4 separate regions of the Homo sapiens genome follow, and all the other regions are linked to region 1. Evidence: promoter capture Hi-C in 16 types of primary human blood cells and fetal thymus (Javierre and others, 2016). All regions are on one chromosome and are shown on one strand. Each heading gives the region's core, a stretch centred on a gene start or on the middle of the fragment in contact. The rest is flanking DNA. Distances are from core to core; before and after follow the strand shown. Region 1 holds the start of CATSPER3 (cation channel sperm associated 3). Region 2 overlaps PITX1-AS1 (PITX1 antisense RNA 1). Region 3 overlaps PITX1-AS1 (PITX1 antisense RNA 1). Region 4 overlaps PITX1-AS1 (PITX1 antisense RNA 1).

The links. Contacts are between HindIII fragments. The CHiCAGO score rates a contact against its expected background, and 5 or more counts as called.
Region 2: a fragment that was not itself captured here is called in contact with the fragment with the promoter of CATSPER3 in region 1 in 4 of 17 cell types (M2 macrophages, M1 macrophages, naive B cells and 1 more); the score reaches 8.2 in M2 macrophages.
Region 3: a contact is called between a fragment that was not itself captured here and the fragment with the promoter of CATSPER3 in region 1, in 1 of 17 cell types (naive B cells). The highest score is 6.6, in naive B cells.
Region 4: a fragment that was not itself captured here is called in contact with the fragment with the promoter of CATSPER3 in region 1 in 4 of 17 cell types (M2 macrophages, M1 macrophages, M0 macrophages and 1 more); the score reaches 8.3 in M2 macrophages.

The regions. Positions count from the first base shown.
Region 1 is chr5:134,966,515-134,969,214 of GRCh38, reverse strand. CATSPER3 (cation channel sperm associated 3) reads right to left here and starts at 1,308. Exons shown (of 8, transcript NM_178019.3): 1 at 1,126-1,308. The coding sequence starts at 1,223. The HindIII fragment of the contact is 4,293 bases long and covers 68-2,700 here.
Region 2 is chr5:135,201,648-135,204,347 of GRCh38, reverse strand. The region is part of intron 3 of PITX1-AS1 (PITX1 antisense RNA 1); the gene reads right to left. Among named protein-coding and RNA genes, the nearest start is that of LINC02900, 45 kb to the left of the region's middle. The HindIII fragment of the contact is 4,619 bases long and covers 1-2,700 here.
Region 3 is chr5:135,217,919-135,220,618 of GRCh38, reverse strand. All of the region lies in intron 3 of PITX1-AS1 (PITX1 antisense RNA 1), which reads right to left. Among named protein-coding and RNA genes, the nearest start is that of LINC02900, 29 kb to the left of the region's middle. The HindIII fragment of the contact is 560 bases long and covers 1,059-1,618 here.
Region 4 is chr5:135,178,457-135,181,156 of GRCh38, reverse strand. The region is part of intron 3 of PITX1-AS1 (PITX1 antisense RNA 1); the gene reads right to left. Among named protein-coding and RNA genes, the nearest start is that of LINC02900, 68 kb to the left of the region's middle. The HindIII fragment of the contact is 7,736 bases long and covers 1-2,700 here.

The DNA of each region.
Region 1 (2,700 bases), core at 59-2,558:
TAACCTGAAATGAAATAACTTCAACTAAACATGTCTATCTCAGTATTTTTTCCAGCACTGAGAAGCTTGAAAACAACTTAAACATCTAACAAAAAGGACTGTGTAAGTAAATTATGGTATGTCCATCTTGTGAAATACAGGCACTAAAATATGTCTATGCATTTTTCAGGATTTAGAAAAATGTTTATGATCCATTTTTATATCTTTTGTTTTTGTGTGCAGCAAAACACAAAAACCAAAGATACAAAATTCTCTGTTCAAAATTATCTCACCTGTGCAAAAATCAGCAGTAGAAAAAATCAGCAGGAAATATGCCAAAATTTTAACAGTGTCTGTCTATGGATGGTGAGGTTATAGGTGATTCTTTTTCCTGTTTATTTCCATTTATCTGTGCTTTGCAATTTTTCTCAGAGTACGTATTACTGTTTCCCATTATATGTTACAAATGAAATGAACACATTCTCATAAGTTAAAAAAATATAGAATATATATTTTTCTTTTTCCTTTTCTTTTTTTTTTTTTCTGAGACAGAGTCTCGTTCTGTCACCCAGGCTGGAGTGCAGTGGTGCAATCTTGGCTCACTGCAACCTTCGCCCCCCAGGTTAAAGGGATTCTCCTGCCTCAGCATCCTGAGTAGCTGGGACAACAGGTGCACACCATCACTCCGGGCTAATCTGTGTATTTTTAGTAGAGATGGGGTTTCGCCACGTTGGCCAGGCTGGTCTCAAACTCCTGACCTCAAGTGATCCGCCCCAGCCTCTCAAAGTGCAGGGATTACAGGTGTGAGCCACCGTGCCCAGCCAGAATGTATATACTTTTCTAATATATCAAGATATGTAATTTTCATTATCTGATTTGAGATGGGGTCTATTATAAAAAAAGAGAAAAGCCTTCAGATTATCTAACAGTCAAACTGGTCAAACTGGTCATTCAAGTCTACAGGGCACATAAAGGTAATAGCATGCCAGCCTCACCAATCATAGAAACCAGATTGTCAAGGACATGCAACTTATTTTGGTAAGCAGACGAGTATCTGAGGGAAGAGGCTGAGAGAACACTGACACCCTGCCCTCACACTTCTACTAGCACATTTCTTAACAGGCAATGGAGATAGATAATATTTACTTAAATTTCTTGAATGTTGGGCAAAATCCCACCGATGTAGTGTCAACTGGTGAACTAGAAATGACTCTCGAGTGGCGCTGGTGACGGTGTTGAGACATTTTCCAAATTTTCAACTTTTATTCCTTGCTTTTAGCATCCAACAGAAAATCTCTGCTTAGGGATTTTCCTTAGCGTCTGGATTCTGAGAGGCAGCAGAGAAGGGGCCACGAAGGGAATCCTTGCTTTATGAGGTCACTCTTGGGCATTCTGTTGCATTACCAGTGTGTAGGCCCCTGAAGTGGGGAGCTCCCAAGTGGGTCTATCATGGATTCTCTCTTCCCAAGGAGACTGAGTGCCTCCATTCAGCAAAAAGGCTATGGGCACCCAGCAATCATGAGGCTCTGGGTTAAAGCTGGAAGTCACTAGAAACAGACCACACAAAGGCCCTCCCTTCAAGAAGTGCCCCCAGCTGATAGACACAGGCCCTTAATAATGTGTTAGAAAAAGTTAAGGGTCATATATAAGGGGGAAAAGCAAGTTCTCTGGGCTCTAAGAGAAAGAGAGCACATCCAGGGCACAGCACTGGAAAACACCTGGAAGGACAAGAAAAGATTGTGATGGGTTTGACTTAGAACAAAAGAAAACAAGAGAAGCAAAGAAGGTAATAGTGAGGTAGGGATAGTGGCTCACACTTATAATCCCAGCAACTTGGGAGGCTAAGGTGGGAGGATCACTTGAGGCCAGGAGTTTGAGATCAGCCTGAGCAACATAGTGAGACCCCCATCTCTAAAAAAAAAATAAGAAATAAAAATCAGCGACGAGGCATAGCGGCTCATGCCTGTAATCCCAGCACTTTGGGAGGCCAAGGCAGGCAGGTCGCTTGAGGTCAGGAGTTTAAGACTAGTCTGGCCAACATGGTGAAACCCCATCTCTTACTAAAAAAAAATACATAAATTAGCCGCGCATGGTGGCAGTTGCCTGTAATCTCAGCTACTCAGGAGGCTGAGGATGGAGAATCACTTGAACCCAGGAGGTGGAGACTGCAGTGAGCCAAGATCGTGCCATTGCACTCCAGCCTGGGCGACAAGAGCGAAACTCCATCTCCAAAAAAAAAAAAAAAGGAAATAAAAATTACCCATGGGAGGCTGAGGCAGCAAGATAACTTGAGCCCAGGAGTTCAGGACTAGCCTGAGCAAGATAGTGAGACTGTCTCTACAAAAAATAAAAATAAAAAAAATTAGGTGGGTGTGGTGGCATGCACCTGTAGTCCCAGCTACCAGAGAGGCCAAGGTAGGAGGATCACTTTAGTCCAGGCGTTGGAGGTTACAATGAGCTGTGATCACACCACTGCACTCCAGTCTGCATGATAGAATGAGACCCCATCTCTTAAAAAAAAAAAAAAAAAGAAAAAAAGAAAGGAGGCAATATAAACCCTGAGTTGGCTAACTGCAGGCATAGGATGGGATGTGCACATATAAACCACCTAAACAGAATATAAAGAGTGAGCACATGTGGCAGAGATGTTTTAAGTACAAAAGTAATAGGGATTTTTGCTCTGTTCAACTCTCAGGATTAATATATTCTCCCCACTCACCT
Region 2 (2,700 bases), core at 68-2,567, 240 kb before region 1:
TGGTGGCTTCCTAAATCCAAACCACTTCAAACAGCTTAAAAAAAAAAATTAACATCAACAAAGGGGAAAAAACAACAAGCAAAAATAAAATCTATGTATGACTCATGTCTTTGTCATTACTAGGAGTCACATAATACTATGAATTCCAAATTACATTTCAGTAGAGAAGTACCAAATTCTAACAAAGCACCTACCATTACTGGAAATCTGTAGGTGTAGAAGGCAGGAAACGGGAGTCTTAAGAAATTCCATGGAAACAAAAGGAGGAGAGAGAACAAACAAGACAAACAGAATCACCCCAGAGAGGTACAGTACAGCACTAAATGCAAAATAATGAACATAAGTCTGGAACTTCGTAGTTTACAGTAATGGCCGTCAGGAAGGTACTTGAAAGTGAGTAGGGTCAGAAGTGACAATGTCAGAGAAGCACTGCTTTTGGGAAGAGAAGAAAATAAATAGAAAATAGGTGTCTCTTAGAGATATGGCAGTAAAGAAAAAGAAGAAATTAAGCATACTGCAGGGGAAAAAAAAGACAGAAAACAAGACAAGCCCTCCTACTCCCTCTATTCATTCAATAAACTGCACTTCATCATATTGACAGAAGAGGGCACTCTTGAAATAGGCACTCACCACAAAATGCCTAGGAATAAAGGGAAAACTCGTACTAACTCCACATTGTTATTAGTATTCCTCGGCTAATCAGTGGAGCTGATTTTTTTTTTTAAAGATAAAATATGCACCAAAACATTTCAACTAATTAAAATTCTCCCCCACAAAGAAAATCAACCATGAAGCAGAAGTAAACTGTCATGTAACATTCCAAACTGAGTTAAATATTATAAAATAAGTATTTGAATATTGTTTAAAAAAACTAGAATCAGAGATTTAAAACTTAGAAGAGAACCTTTTAAAATCAGGAAGAAATGCAATGGGAGTTGATCAATTTCAGGAAATAAATTTAAGAAAAAGACCAAAACTATTTCAGAAATGAAGAACAAATTACAATGTGCCCAAGAGAGAATAAGTTCAAATGAAAATTTAATAGGGAGCATTTACAAAGGTAGTAAAACAAAAACCAAATGAAAATGAATTGAGAACGAGGTTAAAAAAAATCAGCGAAAGTGGTTGAAATGGAAGGCAGGCAAAGATGAGCTAACCTATGTATAATTGGAGTCCATGAAGAAGAAAAATAAAACAATAAAATAGAAATATTTTGAAATATAACCCAAGAAAACTTTCCAGAAATAAGATAAATCCTAAATCAACATAATGAAAAGGTCCACTGTGTGGCTTGGAGAAATGATCTAGAATGAACAACTCTGAAACATATCCTAGTAAAACTACTAGATTTTTATGACAAATAAAAAATCTTCATGACTTTCAGGCAAAAAGGTCAAATTTTATTCTGATAAAAAATGTAGGCTGACCTCAGGCTTTCTAAGAACAACACACGGAATTGGGTAAGAGTGGAACAGCATTTTCAAGAAACTCTGAATCACCCCAGAGAGGTAAAAAGTATAGCACTAAATGCAAAATAATGAACATGAGTCTGAAACTTAGTTCACAGTACTGGCTGCCAGGAAGGTACTTCCTGGCAGTGAGTAGGGATTTTATAGTGAGTAGGGATTTTATATCCATCCTTCATCCAACCAAGTGATAACTGGGGGAGCTTCTGCAAAAGAACCGATAATCATTTAATACATTTAATTACAGAGCTAAGATTAAAACTAGGGTGGGGTCATGGTATCAGAAGATTCTGTAAATATGACATGTTCTGACAAAGTAGAAAGAATGTAATCTTAAAATAGTACCAAAGGAGAAAGCAAAATATGACCATTGATTGTCGTTTAGGTAACAGGTGAGAGTCAAAGGATATCATGTAAAACTGACAGACTAGATAGTAAAAGTTTAAGAAAGGGGAGAATTAAGGGCACTATAAAAGGTATAAATATGATGGCAACCACTAGATCAAAAACATAAGCCTTTCTAAATGCCAAAAGAATTTTTAGACAACAATGAAAATACATCAAATAGAGAAAGAAACTCAGTAAATAAAACAATACAATCAGCACCTCAGCATCCTACTTAATATGGAAACACTAGAGGTATTCCCACAAAAGGAAAGAACAAGGCACTTTTCCGCTATTAACATTGTGCTGGAAGTATTAGCTAACATAGACAAGAGAAAACAAAAGGAGGCTTGAGGATTAGAAAAGAAGACAAAAAACTAACTCTATTGCAGAGGACACAGTAATTTATCAAGAAATCCTAAAGAATAAATGATAAAACTCACAAGTTCTCAAAACATTTATTCTCAAAATTCCTTTACACTCTTAAAAATCAAGGACCTCAAAGAGCTTTTGTTTATGTGGGTTATATCTATTGATATTTACAGATTAGAAACTAAAGCTGAGAAAATGTTAAATATTAATTTTAAAGTAAGAATATAAATGCATATTTTTGAAAAATAACCATAAACAAAAACTTTCAGTGAGAAGAATGACAACATTTTACATTTTTAAATATTTCTTTATTGTTGAGCTTAATAGAAAACGGCTGGATTTTCATGTTTCTGTAGTCAATCTATTATGATAGCACACATTACATAGCCTCCAGAAAACTCCACTGTACACTTGAGAATGAAAGTTAAAAGGGAAAATTATGTCTTAGTATCATAAATATGAGAGTCTTAGTAACATG
Region 3 (2,700 bases), core at 89-2,588, 250 kb before region 1:
TTCAGGAAGCTGACTCTGGGACGACTGAGCCTGACCAAACAGCACTGAATGGGGGTGGGGCACCTCAACACAGAAGGGGCTGGTTCTCGGGGAAAGGCTTCAGCCAATACTGGAGGGATGGGACAGGGCAGGATAAGAGTCTGCAAACATTTGGAAGGCTCAAATACCCTGGAGGGATGGAATTACCTTGCCTAGTAGCCAAGTGTTTTAAGGCATCAGGCAAGGCCTTGCCCATAATTCACTTTCTATCTGTACATGAAAGTCCCACCAAGGATGAAGGATATGGCTGAACACTGGACCTGGTCTGGAGTGGAGTGGACTCTGAGAATGTCTGTCTGCTGACACTACCCTTGTTGCACTTCCTGGGGTAGGGACAATAAAGGAGACCCATGTGACCAGAGTCTCCACATCATCCCAGATGCTGGGCTTCCAGGGAGTATGGGAGGAACTGCTTAATGCACATCCCAGTAGCAGTGCCTCAGCACCACATCAGAATCTTCCTGGAGAGAGGCCAACCCCTGCCAGCCTCTCAGGATCCCTGAGTGCCTGAGCTCTTCATACAGATTGGGCAAGCGAGGCCCATAGAGGGTCACACAGGCATAGAGGGTCACACAGGGTCACACTGGCCCACTGCCAGGTCACACAGGCACGATAAGAGTTGGGAATACTGCTTTCTCCTGATGTCCATTGGTAGCGCCATGCCCCATTGGCAAGGCCTTGGCACTTTTTTTTTTTTTTATCTTCCCAGGACTTTTCCCACAGTTGCTTGGGTCACTATGAAACAGGTGATAGGTGGCCCTCGAGTGTTGTGACAGGAGACCTTTGCTTTATCAAAGGAGCTTTCCCATAAAGCGTCCTCAGTTCCCTGAACGTGGTCTCTCCAGGGCTGATGGCACAGAGCAGAACGCATGCCCAGAGAAACGACGGGAAAATGGGTATAAAATTACATAATAATGTCTGAGGCACACACCGAGAAAATCAATGTTCTCTCAACCATGGAGACCCACTGGGAAAAGACAAGGCGAGATGACCAAAGATTTGATGGGTCTTTTAAAGCTTTGTTTGGTCGAAATAGTTGTTCTTATTTTAAAAACTTCTTTGTCGCAGATAAAATTGTTCTCTAATTTGGTCATACATTTGGATTTCATTATTTTCCGAATGTATTCCAGACATCTAAAATTAAACAGATGTCATCAACCCCGTTTAGACCTAAAAGACTTGTAACCAAACAGTGACTTCAACCCCAATACAATACCGACTGGGAACACTGTGTTTTAGTCATTAAAAGTTTTAAAACTCTGCTCCATTTTTCTCATTTCCTATAATGAGATCTTTTCCCCCTCCTTGAAATACGCCAATTCTTCAAGGGTCAGTGGAAAGTCAAACTGGAGAGTAAAGCAAATTTAAATACGAAAAATGGAAGAGTGAAATATGAAATCCTTATCCACTGAAACCCTCACTGAGAAACCGAAGCTCAGTTTCATTGCAAAGGAGAAAAACGGTAAGGCAGAGATATAGAAATAGTATGAGTGCAGGAAGGGGATTTGGCTTCTAAAGCCTGAATTGTTTTATCGTTCCTTTTCTGACAGGGATTAGATTAGTGAGAATCCTCCAAGCTTGCTCAGGGCGTCCTGGGGACAGTTAAGAAGAAAAGACAATTCTTTCTCCTCTCCAATCCTCATCTCTGAGCTCACCCCCAAATGAATTTGTTAAACAGCGTAACCAGGTCAGAGGAAAGTGCCTATTGGAGATGCCCAGAATTCACAAACAGGGGCCTGTGGCCGCCAGGGAAACACCTGGGGAGGGGCTGGGGAATACATATGTTTGATGTTTGGAGGTCACATTGGGAATTTGGCTGTATAATGTCTTCATGAAATGTCCTAAGCAAAATGTAAATAAAATAGAGAATGGGATGAGAGAGGGACAGAGACCAAAAGAAGACCTTTGCCTCTCTCGTGGGAACTCGAGCCATTGAGTCCTGAACTGGGAGGCAGGCCCCTGCCTCCAAGCCCAGCCCCACTGTACACAGCTGGGGGCTTCAGGTGGGCCTGCTGCCCTCAGAAGCCCAAGCCCAGCACATCGCCCTGCCCTCCCAGCTCCTCAGGCCCCATCCTTCCCCACTCAACCCCCAGCCACCCCTCGCAGCAGAGGCTATCCAACACAGGAAGGAGGACAGGAGAGCTCCAGCCCATTCACCTGCACTTCCTAATGCTCACAAAGCAGCGCGTTTGCCCCATAACTCATCCCCCCCAACACCCAAATAACCCTCTGCCTAGGGTACTCTGGGAGGAAGAGCACCTCGAAATATGAGAAACCAGCTTACTTCAAAAAGACAGCACTTCCTAGGGCACCCAGCCCCAAATACCTGTTCCAGGAAAGAGGTTCAGGTTCCCGACCCCAGAAAGGGATATGGCCACTAATCTGCTCCTGCAGGGACTGGCAAGATTCTTGTTGGGGTCTGCCTTGTTTACCCTAGAAGAGGAGGCAGGAGGTCAAAAGACACAAACCCAGCTACCTCAGTTAGAGGACAAAGTCAAAAGCCACCTTTGAGGTGGGCAGGAGGAAAGGTGATGCCCCTGAAACACACATAGGAACGGGCCCACATTGGCCCTGAGTTGGGCCCCTCTCATGTGTCCCAAACTTGCCCATCACTTGAGATGGGCAACACCTCTTGCCTCCCCCAACAGCATCCAGAGAGGT
Region 4 (2,700 bases), core at 41-2,540, 210 kb before region 1:
GGAACCTAACTTTGTATTGTCCCTAGGAGCAGTGGTTTAGTATTTGCTAATTCGGTGTTGGTGGGGACTTTATAGAACATAACTAGTGCAAGTAATGAGAATCGACCGGAGTTTCGGTCCTTGGGAAGATGGGGATGCAGGAGACAAAGTGCCAATAGCTAATGACAACTACTATTCGTGGAGCACTCTCTTCCTGGGCCAGGCCCCTGTTACCTCACAGAACACTGTCTTTTTCTTTAGTCCATTTATGCCTAGTGTTCCATTATTGGAACACTGAGCATGTGGGAGTTATTTATATCCTACTGCTCAAGGTCACCACCAAGTTCTGATTGCAAAAATTCAAAAAATTGCAACCTCAGGCATAAATGGGTTAATAATCATGTCTAACATAATAATAATGGCTGCTAACACCAAGTGAACACTCACTGTGAGCCAGGCACATACCAAACGCTTCATATTGATCACACAGATCTCATCGAATCCTCCCGTACCTGTGAAACCTGGGGGGTTTTAGGCCTCATGCCTGCTGTTCACAGCAAGTGTTCAGCACACTCACCTGTCCCGGGTTTTGGGTTTCTCATGTGGCAGGCTGTGCCTGGCTGGGAAAAGCCATTGCTTCAAGGATTTTTAGAACATTTTCCAGCTCTGGAGTGCACAGTGGAGGATGAAGGAACCAGGGACTCAGCCTGCTTGACAGTGGCTAAGAGAGCAGGCAGCCAGCTCATCCCCAGGATGTGCCACAAGCCTAGTACCACTGAGTCCCAGCCAACCGCAGGGCTGAGCTGCCCCTCTGCTGACCGCAGCAGGTGCCATACTGACATCCCTCCTTGTGACTTAGCTACCAGCAACTTGCTCTCACCCACCTTGGTGTGGAGGGAGAGCCCAGTTCCCAGCCTCAGCTTCACCCCAGCTAAGCTGCAAAAGCCTGAGCATGGTAGCACTTGGCACATCAGTGGCCCTAGGCCACAGTCACCTTCCCCAGGTGACGCTAAGCAAGCAACTCACTTCTCCTACCTGTGGTTTTTCCTGCCTACAAAGTGGGAATAATTACACTCCCGCTTCCAAGTTTTCACATCTACTATCTCACAATTTAGAAGAGAAACAGGCAGGGCCAGTTAAAAAAAAGAAAACACAAAGACAGTGATTGTTATTATTGCTGATAACATTAGATGAATAAAGTAATATTCCCTGGACACTAAAGAGAAACAAAGTGGCAGCATTAATTATCTCATTTTTGACATTTTTCATTATGGCAGGATAGGTGGGGCTCCTCAAAAGCCAAATGCTCAGAATATTCCTGCCATTGAGCTGTCCATGGGAAGAGGTGTATAAGGCGTCTACTGACCACCAGGGGAACTAATCCCCTCTAGGTTGCTGCCAGTCCTACCCACAGCCAGGAAGAGTGAGAAAGGCTCAGAAACAGCCCCCAACAGGTGAGGAGAGGGAGCAAAAGCCCTTCTCAAAAGCAGGGCCCCAGAGAAGATATAAACAGGGCTGAGCGGCAGGATGGGCTGGGACAATTCCCTCCTCCTGCTGCGAGGTAGAAGCTGTGACCCTGCAGTCCCAACAGCCCCACCTGCTTCTTGGCTGCCCCTGCCGGAAACACGCAGGGCCCAAGCCTGGACAGCAGGAGCCCAGGTAAGCGGCCCCAGGTGCAGAAGTGGCCTTGGCCACAGGAAGTCCTGTCTCCCGCCTACGGCTAATTGCCACCACTGCAGAGGAGCCGAGCTAATTATACAAAAGTATGTGGCTCCCACATTCCCGGGCCACCACACACTTGCACACACCTCACAGGAGACCAGCCTGACTCCGGCATCCACCCCAGCCCCCTCCTGGCTCCTCTGAGCCTCCAGAGATGTCCCCTCTCCTGCAGCCTTCTCTATAAGCTCTTCAGGTAAGCCCCAGCAGCAGTTCCCTCCACTCTCCCTTTGCCTGCCTCTGAGGCACTTAACCCTCATCTTTACCTAATGTAAATATTTAATCCTGTACATTTAGGATCTGCCTGTCACCTGCCTCCAGTCTGTTCTCTCATCATCCAAATGGTCTTCCTGCCAGACCCGGGGCAGACCCAGGACTCCAAAGGGCTCTCTCTCCCCAGAGAGCTCCCCGACACAGCCCGGCACCTAGCTGACAGTAACCATGCATGGGGGGTGACAAATGTTCGAACCAGTTGTGCAACCTCAGTCAACGTGTGCGCTCTGAGCTTTAATTTTCTTATTTGTAAAATGAAGCTACCACCACCTGCCTCACAGAGTTTCTGGGGAATTGAAACCTAGCACGGTGCCTGACATATAGTAGGTAGCTCATAAATGCTTACTGAATTCCCAGCAAGCATTCGTGATGGGCTGGGGCCTTGCGCATCTAAAACAGAACTCATCCACCCATGTGCAAGTATCCTTCCCTCCCCGCACCCACTCTAACGAGAACTCGATGCCAGCCCATCCCTGCCTCCGTGATGCACTCAAGAGCCTGGTAGGCAGGACAGGGGAGGATGGAGCTGCAGAAGGGCTGAGTTGAGAGACAGGGTCCACCCACATAATCAAGTCCTGGAAAGGGGGCAGGAGAAGAGAAAAGGAAAAGCTGGATGTGGGGAGAGACCCTAAGGGCCGTGGGTGGCCAAGACCTGCACTGGCCAGGGCTCAAGAGTGCTGCTGGGGCACAGGACAGGGATGCCCAACCTTCAGCCTTCTTTCAGAAGAC